Linked DNA regions of Homo sapiens: regions 1 and 3 are each linked to region 2. The links are contacts of gene promoters, found by promoter capture Hi-C in human tissues and cell types (Jung and others, 2019). All regions are on one chromosome and are shown on one strand. Each heading gives the region's core, a stretch centred on a gene start or on the middle of the fragment in contact. The rest is flanking DNA. Distances are from core to core; before and after follow the strand shown.

Region 1 (4,420 bases), core at 166-2,665, 280 kb after region 2:
TTTAGATGAAGAATTCAGTACATTTGGACATATGTTTGTAGCTGTGTAACCACCATTGCACTCATGATCTAGAACATTTCTAACACCCCCAAAAGTTCCCTACTTCCCCTTTTGCAGTCAGCCTTCTCCCTCCACTGCCAGCCTTTGGCAAACTGATCAGTCAGTAAAGTTTCACATTATCTAGAATTTCATATAAACAGAACCATATGGTATGTAGTCTTTTTAATCTGGCTCCTTTCACTCACATAGTGCATTGGAGATGCATCCATGTTGTAGTTTATTCCTTTGTATTGCTGAATAGTATCCCATTATATGTATATGTCAGAATTTGTTGATTTACCAGTTGATGTACATTTGGATTGTTTTCAGTTTGGGGTTATTATGAATAACGCAGCCATGAACATTCTAGTGCAGGTCTTTATGGGGACAGGAGTAGGAATGCCACATCCCGTGGTAAGTGGATGTTTAACTTTTTAGGAAGCTGCAGAACTAATCTGCAGTGGCCGTATCATTTTGCATTCCCCTCAGTGATATGTGAGAGTGCTTCAGTGACTCCTATACTCACCAACACTGGGTGTATTACTGTGACACTAGATGTATTATCTATTGCTACGTAACAACTTACCTTAAAAGCTGGCAGCTTAAAACAACAGACCCTATTATCCCACTTTTTCAATGGGCCAAGAATCTTGGCTGGGCTTAGCTGGGGCCTCTGGCTCAGGGTCCTTTACAAGGCTGCAATTAAGGTATTGGCCAGGGCTAGAGTCATCTCAAGGCTTGACTAGTTTTTAATTTCATTTTCTAATGTTTTATTACTAGTATATAGAAATATAGCTGAAGTGTTTTGCAGGGAGGCTGTATAATTGACCTTGTATCCTGCAACCTTGCTAAACTCATTTATTAGTTCTAGAAGCTCTTGGGTGTATTCTCTAGGATTTTCTACATCAACAAACATGGTTTCTATAAATATAGTTTTATGTCTTTCTTACAATCAATACTTTTTTCTATCTGTATTGCATTTTCTAGGGCTTCCAGTGTGGTGTTGAATAGAAGTGTTAAGAGTGAACATCCTTGCCTTTTTCCTGATATTGGAGAAAATTCACTTGTCTTTTAGCATTAAGTGTCATGTTTGCTTTTTTAAAATTTTATTCTATATTATTTTATTTTTGAGACAGAGTCTTGCTCTGTCACCCAGGCTGGAGTGCAGTGGTGTGATCTCAGCTCACTACAACCTTGACCTCCTAGGCTCAAGCGATCCTCCCACCTCAGCCTCCTGAGTAGCTGGGACTGCAGGAACATGCCACCATGCCTGGCTAATTTTTGTATTTTTTGTAGGGATGGGGTTTTGCCATGTTGCCCAGGCTGGTCTTGAACTGTTGGATTCAAGCAATTCGCCTGTCTCAGCCTCCCAAAGTGCTGGGATTACAGGCATGAGCCTCCGTGCCTGGCCTGATATTTGCTTTTTTTTTTTTTTTTAATGCTCTCTATTGCAGAGTTGGCAAACTACAACCTGTGACAAATCCAGCATGCCACCTGTTTTTGTAAATAAAGCTTTATTGGAGCATAGCCATGCTCATTAGTTTACATCTTGTGTATGGCTGCTTTAACACTACAGCAGCAGAGTTAGAGTTGTGACACAGATAGTTTGGCCCATAAGGCCTATATTTACTGTCTAATCTTTTACAGGAAAAATTTGCCAATTCCTGCCCTCTTGGTTTGAGGAAATTCCCTTCTGTTCCTTGTTCTGAGAGTTTGTATCATGAATGGGTGTTAAATTTTGTCAAATGCATTTTCAACTATGAAGGGTTTTGTTTTTAGACGAGTGATATGGGGGACTAGGTGATTGATTTTCTACTGTTAAACCAACCTTGCATCTCTGGGTTCAACCCCACTTGGTATTATAGATTTATTACCCTTTTTCTCTTGTGGCAGATTAGATCTACTAAAATTTTCTTGAGGATTTTTGTGTTTGTGTTCATGAGGGATATTGTAGTTTTTTCGTGTCTTTGCCATGTTTTGGGTATCAGGATAATGCTGCTGTCATTGAGGGGTGACAAAAATGAGGGGTGGTGTCCTTTACACTTCTGTTTTCTGGAGGATTTCATGTAGAATTGGTATGAGAGTCTAGCTTATGGTTAAAAACCTATGTGTGATGTTTCAGACCTGACCATAAACAATTACAGACTTTACCTAGGAGGCCACATGGGGAAAAGCTGCCCTCCCTACACCAGACTTGGCGTACTGCCAATGCATTACAGTTTCTAAAGGGAGTTGCAGTCAAGGACTCAGGGCCCCCTGTTAGTCATGCTCTTGTAACAGTATTTGCATTGAGAGTCCTGGCACTTTCATTCTTAGGTCTCTCTATCTGAGGCCATGGGCCAAGGTCTTCTTCAGGCACCTCTGCCAAGGCCTGTTTATGCAAGAAGGAGTGGAAAAACCTTGACATTTTTTTCCACTGTGACTCACTACCCAGTACTTTTCCACCCTTAGCCCCCTTCCTTTGCACCCATACCCCCAAGATCCATCAAACTGCTAAAGCCTTTTTTTCCAAGCTCCTTCAACAGTGAACCAACCCTCATGTCTGTGTGGATCCAGCTGACTCTTGACTAGTGAGTTGTTCCTTGGGAAAAAATGGAACAGAGAGAGTTGGTGCTTTCCCTGGTTTTAGCCTCTTGCTTATACCAATGCAATGCCTGAAGGCTTAATTCATTTTTGACTTGTTGCTTTGATCAGCTACTCCAACACCTGACAGCTCAGCTCTTTCTCCCAGCTCTTGGGAGATATTTTTTTCTTTAAATGTTTAGTAGAATATACCAGTAAGGCCATCTCGGCCAGGAGTTTTCTTTAATGAAAGCTTTTCCACTATTAGTTCAGTTACTTTAGTAGACATTAGCCTATTCAAGTTTATCTGTGTCTTCTGGAATGAGCATTGGTAGTTTATGTCTTTCAAGTAATTTGTTCATTTCATCTAAATTGTCAGATTTATTGGTATGAAGTGTTTATAGTATTCTCTTATTTTACTGTCCGTAGGGTCTATGGTGATGTCCTGTCTTTCATTCTAGATATTGATGTGTCTTCTTTTTTCTGATTATTCTGGCCAGAGGTTTATCAATTTTATTGATCTTATTAAAGAATGAACTGTTTCATTGTTTTTCTCTATGATTTTTCTGTATTCTATATCATTCTTTTTTTATTATTTTATTATTTTATTTGCTCTTTATTTTTCTAGTTTCTTAAGGTGATGGCTTACTTTTATTTTTTTCTTATTTTTTTCTTTTGTTGTTGTTGTTTTTTTAAAGAAACAGGGTCCCACTCTTGCTCAGGCTGGAGTGCAGTGGCACGATCATGGTTCACTGCAGTCTCAAACTCCTACATTCAAGCTGTCCTCCCCCCTCAGCCTCCAGAGTAGTTGGGATTACAGGTGCATGCCACCATGCCTGGCTAATTTTTAATTTTTTTTGTAGAGATGGGGTGTTACTAGTTGCCCACGCTGGTCTGAAACTCCTGGCCTCAAGTGATCCCTCCACCTCTGCCTCCCAAAGTGCTGGGATTCCATGTGTAAGCCACTGTGCCTGACCAAGGTGATGGCTTAAAGCTATTGATTTGAGATGATTCCTTACTTTATAGTTTAAGCATATAATGCCATAATTTTCCTCAAGCACCGTTTTAGTTATGTTATACAAATTTTGAAATGTTTTGTTTTCATTTCCTAATTTCCCTTGTGATTTCTTTATTGAACCTTGGCTTATTTAGAAGTATGTTTAACTTGCAGATATTGGAGATTTGCCAGCCATCTTTTTGTTATTAATTTCTACTTTAATTTTGTTGTGATTAGAGAACATACATTTTATTAATTTAAATTTATAATTTATTTTAATTTATAATATGGTCTGTTTTACAGAATGTTGTGTGTGTATTTGAAAATAATATGAAAGCTACTATTATTGGATGGAGTGTTCTATAAATGTCAGTTAGATTAGGTTGATCATGCTGTTCTAGCTTTTTATATCCTTATTGATTTCCTCACTACTTGCTCTATCAATGACTGGGAAAGTGTTGAAGTCTCCCAGTATTTGTCTATTTCTCCTTTGATTCTACCAGTGTTTGCTTAATGTATTTTGAAGCTCTGTTATAGGTGCATACATGTTTATGAGTATGTTATAGATGTATTCATTTTGATATCCTTCTTTCTCTGTTACTATTCCTAATTCTGAATTTGACTTTAATGTTATTAATATAATTCTTCCAGCTTTCTCTTGGTTAGTCTTTTCATTGCATATCTTTTTCTATCCTTTTACTTTTAATCTAGCTGAATGTAGTCTTTATTTTGAAAGTGCGTTCCTTGTTGATAGCATTATTGGTTCTTTTTTTTTTTTAAATCTAATTTGACAATCTCTGTCTTTTAATTGGAGGGTTTAGA
Region 2 (4,440 bases), core at 1,474-3,973:
CAGTGAGAACACATGGACACAGGGAGGGGAACATCACACACCGAGGCATGTTGTGGGGGGTGAGGCAAGGGGAGGGAGAGCATTAGGACAAATACCTAACGCATGCAGGCTTAAAACCTAGATGACGGGTTGATGGGTACAGCAAACCACCATGGCACATGTATACCTATGTAACAAACCTGTACATTTTGCACATGTATCCCAGAACTTAAAGTAAATTAAAAAAAAAGTTGAACATGGAAAAAATAATTCATAAAAAAAGCTATGGGTTTTCTCCCTAGAAAAACCCATACATCACAACATTATTCCAGCACTTTCATAAGGTCCTCATATCACCCCTGAAGCCTATCTGTGGCCCCCTGTGAGTCTACATGAGTAGAGAGAGAATTGAAATCCACAGTTTACCTGCAAACTTCATTTTAGGCTGTAGTTGTAAACCGTCCCCAAAATACCCAAATACCCCCATAAAAACAATATAGAAAGCCCACGTGGTGGTGGTTTTTTTTGTTTTGTTTTGTTTTTTTGTTTGTTTTTTGTTTGTTTTTTGAGATGGAGTCTTGCTCTGTCGCCCAGGCTAGAGTGCAGTGGCCTGATCTCGACTCACTGCAAGCTCCGCCTCCCAGGTTCACGCCATTCTCCTGCCTTAGCTTCCCGAGTAGCTGGGACTTCAGGCGCCCGACACCATGCCCGGCTAATTTTTTGTATTTTCAGTAGAGACGGGATTTCACCGTGTTGGCCAGGATGGTGTCGATCTTCTGACCTTGTGATCCGCCCGCCTCGGCCTCCCAAAGTGCTGGAGTTACAGGCGTGAGCCACCGTGCCCGGCTGCCCACGTGTTTTTATATCAGATTAATTTACTCGGAGAAGAATGGCCTGGTTTTCATTTGCCTTCTATTTGGGCACCGTTATTGTTAATTTCAGTAACCAAAATGAAGGGAATAAAAAGGAAAGTAAGAGGTAAAAGCTTGTATTCCCAAACCAGAGAATCTACACTGAAATCAAAAGTCTAATGCTTTATTTTTTTGGCTAAACTTTGGTCCATTCTAAGTTGACCATACCTTCCCTGGTGAACAGAAAGAGAAGAAAAGAAAATAAAGAAATTTTAATTTTTAAGAAAGGTTTAAGGTTTTTGTTTTTGTTTTTGTTTTTTTTTTTTTTTTTGAAGGACTACACTTTAACAGATTTTCAATCTGTTGGATCAGCTTTTTTAGAATGTTATGCATTGCCACGCTATGCTTTTTGGGAAGAAGTCTCTTGAGTTTTTAAAGTAATCATAGTTCATCTTACCTTTTTCAAATAATCTGATCTATTTTTTGTGACAACTGCTATGTTGGGGGACCTAGTGAAGCCCAAGGTTTTCATGAATTACACCTCAATTCAGCCATCAGGATTAATATGTTTAAATTCCAGTTGGACAGCCCACTGTTAGCTGATACCTAATAGAAAATACCTGACTTCTAAGTCCCCCATCATGTCTCCCCTGTTTCAACAGCACTACCCTTATCTCTCAGCCAATCAGGCCATAAAGGGTTAAGATCACTAGTTTCCTTTTGAATATTAACATTTCACAATATTGTGTACATGTGTGCATGCCACTTACAGCACTGAACCCTATTGATCCTTACCTCTATGATCTTCCCTAATCTTCATTGCATCATGTCAATGACTAATCATGAGAGATCAGGCAGTCTGACTTCTAGGTCTGCATTTGGGACCTCTATGCTTTTCTGCCTCCATAATTATTTTGTTTATGCAATAAAATAAAATAATAAAATAGGAAAAGCAGGTTAAAATGCTGGCTCTGCAACACCAGCCTGAAAGGAATTGCGTCCGCCTCTCTGATGGAAAACAGCTTAGCAATTCGAATATATCACCCCAACAACCATCATCAAAAGAGAACCCTGGGACCTGCCATAAAGCAAATGCTTGGTGTGAATCAATGGATGGCTGAGTAAATAGCCAAAAGTGAACTGCAAGCAGCAGGAATGGATTTGAGAAAAATCAACAATTCAGCATGGCCCTCAGATACGGTGTGGGCCTTCCAAGGCCTGCGCGTGCTTGCTGCAGGGAAAGAGAGTAAACCAGAAGCCTAGTTTTGAAGGGGAACAGGTTACCTACTGGCACCAGCCTCTGTTGATTACACACCGCAAGAGCCTGGAGAGGAAGCAGGTGAATCCAGTTTTCTCTGTCTCTAAACACCTCAGTTTACCTAGCTCTATTGTGGGGGTCTTGCAATTTCAAGTTCCTTCTGTGATGATCCAAGAAATAATAGGTCTAGCAAGTGCTTTATGTAAACCAAAAAGTGCCGGCACAAGGTTGAGGAGGCAGCACTGACCAGGTGTGTCCAGGGTAAACTCTCTAGAGGAGCGTTTCATAAATTGAACGTGCATTGGGATCTCCTGGGAATTTTGATGAAATGAACATCCCGCTTCATGGGTCTGGAGTGGGGCCTCAGCGATGCTAACAAGCTTCCAGGTGATGCTGATGCTGCCGGTCCGCGGACCACACTCCGGAGTAGCAAGGGGCCAGAAGGGCCAAATCTGCCTGCGTGGAGGGAAGTCGGGGAGATGGGGAGAATGGAAAGAAGGACGGTAGAAGGGAAGCTGCTAGGAAGGAGAGATCGGTGCGGGGAGGAGGGGGGTTCCAAGAAGAAGGGGGAGGCTGCGGTGCTGGAGCGAGGATGCGCAGACCGAGGCAGGGAGGCGGGGGTGCGGGAGGCTCCGCGGCTGCGCGGGCGCGTGCTGGTGGCCTCGGCGGAGGCTCAGTCCCGGCCCGCGCCCGCGGCGCCCCCGCTGCGGCCCGAGCGGCCTGGCTGCGGGATCTGTGCGCACGGATGGCGCGGCCGCCCCGGCAGCACCCGGGGGTCTGGGCGTCGCTGCTCCTGCTGCTACTGACGGGGCCCGCCGCCTGCGCAGCCAGCCCCGCGGACGACGGTGCGGGCCCGGGGGGCCGGGGACCCCGGGGACGCGCGCGGGGGGACACGGGCGCCGACGAGGCGGTGCCGCGCCACGACTCCTCCTACGGCACCTTCGCGGGGGAGTTCTACGACCTGCGCTACCTGTCGGAGGAGGGTGAGGCTGCGGGAGGGCGAGGGGTTGCGGGAGGGGAGACCGGGGGTGGGGGACCGAGGATCGGGGGAACGAGGAGAGGGGGCGAGGGAGGGGGAGGGGGTCGGAAAAGATGTCCGTGGAGGCAGCTCTTGCAGAGGCGAGGCCAGGATGGGGAGCGCAGTGCCCAGGCCTCCGCCGGCCTGGAGGAAAGGCCCAAAGAGCTGTCAATGCCTGCCGCCCGCTTTACAGATGGGGAGAGTGAGGCTGGGAGAGGGAGGGGTCATCCAAGTTCTGCAAGGCTGTGGATAGGGGTGGGTGCTGAGTCTAAGCTCCCCCAGTTCTTAGATCTGGCTTCCACCTTTGCCGCCTGGGGTTGGGTTATAGGGGAGGAGGCCGCCATCTGGCCAGGGCAGCTAGGGGGAAGCAGAAAAACCCCAACCTAAAGAGAGAGGTTGCCTTATTTCCTCCCTGTCTGTATTGACTTAAATTTGCAGTGACCAGCGCCCACCTCGTAGCATTCTGTTCCTGCTCACTGACCCGTCAGAGCTGGGTCACATCAGCCTCCCCACTCCCATCCCTCCTCTTTTATGACGCCACATATGTTATGGTCCCCTAGTGCGAGCCACCATTGTTGTGGCCTGCTGGGCCCGCAGACTGGGAGTTTGTCAGCCAAGGGCCTCCCTGTAGAGCTGCTTCAACGAGCACAAAAGCCAAGCGGATGGTGGTCAGAAGGAATGGAAACTGGCCTCTTTAAGCAACTTTGGGAAGTAGTGACTTTCCTTTTCTTCTGCTAAGAGGGATATCCAACCATCAAGCTGGGGTTTGAAGTGTTGAGTCCCAGGAGCTCATATCTGTTAGTGGATGTGTCTGTTGTTAGGATTAAGTTCAGCTGTATACAACAAGCAAACATTAATAGCTTCAACAAGATAGAAGTTTCTCTCTTACAGAAAGAAAACTAGAAATAGGTAATCCAGAACTGGTCTGGAGGCTCCTTGGTCACCAGTGTCTCTGGATCCTGCCCTTCTGTTTCTTCACAATTCTTAGCATGTAACTTCATGGTTCAAAATAACTGCTTGAGCTACAGCCATTATGTTCACATTCTAGACAGTGGGAAAAATGAAGCAGGAAGAAGGTCACTGACTACTTTATAAAGGGATTACTCGGAAGTTTCATATAACAATTTTTATACTTCTTTGGCCACAACTTAATCATATGGTTGCACATAGGTACAAAGGAGGATGTAAAATAGAGCCTATTAGCTGAGACATAATATGCCCAGTTCAAAAATCAGAATTATTGTATTAAAGAAGATGGAGAGAATGGATTTGGGGAAATGTATTAAGTAGAGGCTTAACTGCTGAATTAGAGATTTTAACATATAGTGGTTTAA
Region 3 (4,257 bases), core at 807-3,306, 260 kb before region 2:
TTCCTTCAGGAGAGAGATGTTCCCAGAGTTAAAATTTAAAAGGAGTGTATCAGACGGTTTTTATCTGATTGCTCCAAATGTATCCAGCCTAGAAATGTAAATAGATTTGAAATAAAAGCATTCATGAAGAAGCGCAGATGATGATAAAGAATAGATTCTGGTCATCTCTATTACCATGTTCATAAAGACGGTTAACAAATCGTGCTCTTGAATATTCCGGTACACTGGTTTGTGGCCACGGCATTTTGAAACCAGTTTTCTGCTGTCTGTTGCATCTTACCTCATTTCACCAATGTGGGTTAAATGCTTACAAGTCCCTGCTCCTATGTCTGTGTGGGTGAAATCTTGACTGTTTTTCCTCCCAGGCTGAATCCAGGGAACATATTGTGGCCTTCAACATGCTGAATTACCGATCTTGCAAAAACTTGTGGAAATCCTGTGTTGAGCACCATACGTTCTTTCAGGCAAAGAAGCTACTACCTCAGGAAAAGAATGTTCTGTCTCAGTACTGGACTATGGGCTCTCGGAACACCAAAAAGTGAGTGTGCTGTAAAGACTGTGTCCACACTAGGCTGAGATGTAAATGCATCCTGGTCATCAGTGAATAGAGGACATTGTTAGGCAGAGGAGGAAACCCATAGCCCAGGGGCTCCAGGCATTGGATCTCTGAACCATAACTAAAAGTCTCCCGGGGTCAGCAGTGTCTAAGGGATATCTCATGTTCCCAGCATTTCTCTCCCCTCAACTCTGCTGAACTCAGCACTTCCAAGCAGTCAGAATGGCAGCTGTACCCTGCACCATGACATAATAAAGGAAATGGAGCCATGGTTCTGTGTGTCTCCTGGTGCCAGCATACTGGGCTATCCCAGTCTGATGCCACTATGCCAGCCTCTCCCACAGAACTTTAATTCCATAAGATGCTCTATAAAAATGAATGAAGGAATAGAAAAACATTTCCAGAGTCAAGTGACTTTGGGATATATTGCCTATAATAATTACAAAATAACAGTAGTAATCACAGTTGATAATTACTGAGCATTTACTTTGTGCTGGGCACATAATTATATTTGACTCTTACAACTCTCCTATGAGATAGGTACTATTAGCCACAGGAATGATATTCAAAATATTTAATGACTAGTACAGGAAAAGAAATGGATGTAAATTTATATATATTTATGTATAAATATATATAATATATAAATTTTTAAATTCTAATTTAGATTAAAATTTATTCTCTAAATAAAATGATGTACAGTAAAAGAAATGGATGTACATTGATATATATAATTCGTATATACATTTTAAAATTCTAATTAAGATAAATTTATTCTCTAAATGAAATAACCATGCAGTTTGTATTTTTGTTTTCTTTGTTCTAAGACTACCCTCTAAGTATAAGAGGTAGCATAAATTGTCAATTTATTCTTATAATTTCTTTTTTCTTTCTTTCTTTTCTTTTTTTTTTTTTTTTGAGATGGAGTCTTACTCTGTCACCCAGCCTGGAGTGTAGTGGTGCCATCTTGGCTCACTGCAACCTCCGCCTCCCAGGTTCAATCGATTCTCTTGCCTCAGCCTCCCGAGTAGCTAGGATTACAGGAGCACACCACCACGCCTGGCTAATTTTTGTATTTTTAGTAGAGACAGGGTTTCACCATGGTTGGCCAGCCTGGTCTCGAATTCCTGACCTCAGGTGATCCACCCACCTTGGCCTCCCAAAGTTCTGGGATTACAGGCATGAGCCACCGTGCCCAGCCTATTCTCTCTTTTTTGTTTTGTTTTGTTTTGAGACGAAGTCTCACTCTGTCGCCCAGGCTAGAGTGATCTCGGCTCACTGCAACCTCTGTCTCCTGGGTTCAAGTAATTCTCCTACCTCAGCCTCCCAAGTAGCTGGGATTACAGGTGCCCACCACCACGCCCAGCTGATTTTTGCATTTTTAGTAGAGACAGGGTTTCACCACATTGGGCAGGCTGCTCTCGAACTCCTGACCTCAGGTGATCTGCCTGCCTCGGCCTCCCAAAGTGTTGGGGTTACAGGCATGAGCCACCGTGCCAGGCCATATTTTCTAAATCATTTGTTGGTTTTTCAAAATTGTTTTCGTGATTTGTTGTTGATGTGGCTATTACTAACTAAATGAGACCCGTGTCTGAGCCATTATCTTTCTGATAGGTGGAACTGCATCAGACTGTTCCAGTTACTTTCCTAATACATTGATAATCATTAGGGAACTTGTAAACTGAATAAGTAGCTAATTTCTGTTAGTATCAGTGATACTATTTGTGGTGCTAAATGCTATCTCTCAGCTTCTGATGAACCAAGAGTGAATATATTAAGTTTTTAGCTCTTATAATACTGTTTAGTATTTGTATACATTCAGTAGATCTACTGTTGAGCAAGCCATGAAAATAACTTACTGGATTATATCATTGACTTAGGTTGGGCCTGATCCTCAGGCCAGATGAGAGAAGGAATGGGGAGGCAACTGAAACCATGCCCTCTGTTGCTGAGCTGCCTGGGTTCAAATCCTGCCTCTGTCACTTGAGCTTTAATTTGTTGCTTCTATTTCTTCATCTGCAAAGCTTTGTCATCTGCATGCATCCAATGCCAGCAGGGCTGGGTTCTGGTCTTGTATTGTGGCACAAGAAAATACCCCTATTTTGGTGACTGAAAGCAACACCCATTCTGTTATATCTCATGACTTTGTGAGTCAGGAATCCTAGAAGGGCTTGGCCAGAGGCCTCTTCTGCTCTGTGTGGTGTAGATAGGGATTTCTCAGTGAATGTGGCCAGAGGATCCAAGATAACTTCTCTTGCATACCTGGTGTCTTGATGGAATGGTTGGAAGGCTGGACTCACCTGGACTCCTTAGCATCCCCATCTGGATACTCCAGGAGGGTGGTTGAATTTCTTACATGGACACTCAGGGTTCCAGGAGCGAAAGGCAGAACCGTTCAGCCTTCTTAAGGGTGAGACCTGGCACTGGCACAGCGACTCTGTTGCTGAAAGCAGTCACAAGCCAACCCAGATGCAAGACTCAAAGAACTTGCAGTCATCTTTAATCTGCCACAGGGGATCATTTGGGTTGGGAGGATGGCTTGGGAGGACAAGTCAGCAGTTCTTTTACTACCTGTGCCAGCTTCAGCATACTGGTGAATTTCAAGTCTCATTACCTCCATTTTACAGATGAGGACACTGAGGCTTAGAAGGGTCACATGACTTGCCCAGCCCCTAGAGATACAGATACACATCTGCTTATTGGGCCTTCTGAAAGGTTCCACATAAAAAGAAATTTGTTGGGTTATTTTCCAAGCTTATGGGACAATGGAACACTTTTTTTTCAGAGAGTCCCTATTAATAACCCATGACACATTAAACCTTGGAGTTGGGCAGTTTGCTCCCCTTGTTTTGATCCTGTGCTCTTCATCACTGGCAGTGTGGTTTCTGATGTAGGCCTGCCTCAGAGGAAAGAGTCTCCCAGTGATGCTGTTGTGAGCATTTTGATCAGGGTGACAACAGCATTTCTTAATGTGAATTAGTACATGATGTGCTACAGGGCGATTCATATTGTTTATGTTCTTTTGTTTGTTCTTTGTTCTGTTTTGTTTTTGTTGGTTGGTTGATGTCATGTCACAAGGAAATGTGTAGAATGTTTTCATAAGACATTAAATCCTAGTTTAAAATTTAGAGATGCCAGAACCAAAGTTGTCACCCTTTAACAGGGTGACAGGCTTCATGCTCTATTCTCTCAAATAATTCATTCTCTGAGGGGTCTAGATAGCTAAGATTTAAATTCTCTAGGTATAAATAAAATTCAAAAGTAACCTTCAGGGTAGCACATTTCAAAGAACGTAGCCTGAAACTCTGTATAATTTTTTGTTTTTGGAGACAGAGTCTTACTGTGTTCCCCAGACTGGAGTGCAGTGGTGCGATCTTGGCTCGCTGCAACCTCTGTCTCGGGGATTCAGGGGGTTCTCATGCCTCAGCCTCCCAAGTAGCTGGAATTATAGGCATGCGCCACTATACCTGGCTAATTTTTTGTATTTTTAGTAGAGGTAGGGTTTTGCCATGTTGGCCAGGCTGGTCTTGAACTCCTGACCTCAAGTGATCCACCCGCCTCAGCCTCCCAAAATGCTGGGATTGCAGGCATGAGCCACTGTGCCCAGTTTGAAACTACTTTCTAAGCGCATTTTCAGATTCTCTCTCAAAGATTTACCAGTGATTTATAGTGACAGCTCCTGCCAGCTAGGATGATGAAGA

What was found. Contacts are between HindIII fragments. The study calls those that stand out against the background at their distance.
Region 1: a fragment that was not itself captured here is called in contact with the fragment with the promoter of FRRS1L in region 2 in 2 of the 25 tissues and cell types used here (heart left ventricle and mesendoderm cells).
Region 3: a fragment that was not itself captured here is called in contact with the fragment with the promoter of FRRS1L in region 2 in 2 of the 25 tissues and cell types used here (dorsolateral prefrontal cortex and pancreas).

The regions. Positions count from the first base shown.
Region 1 is chr9:108,883,957-108,888,376 of GRCh38, reverse strand. The region is part of intron 29 of ELP1 (elongator acetyltransferase complex subunit 1); the gene reads left to right. Among named protein-coding and RNA genes, the nearest start is that of ACTL7A, 24 kb to the right of the region's middle. The HindIII fragment of the contact is 6,266 bases long and covers 1-4,420 here.
Region 2 is chr9:109,165,532-109,169,971 of GRCh38, reverse strand. It overlaps FRRS1L (ferric chelate reductase 1 like), which reads left to right and starts at 2,723. Exons shown (of 5, transcript NM_014334.4): 1 at 2,723-3,071. The coding sequence starts at 2,834. The HindIII fragment of the contact is 7,141 bases long and covers 1,717-4,440 here.
Region 3 is chr9:109,423,231-109,427,487 of GRCh38, reverse strand. PTPN3 (protein tyrosine phosphatase non-receptor type 3) reads left to right here. Exons shown (of 26, transcript NM_002829.4): 12 at 366-538. Among named protein-coding and RNA genes, the nearest start is that of PTPN3, 73 kb to the left of the region's middle. The HindIII fragment of the contact is 7,498 bases long and covers 1-4,257 here.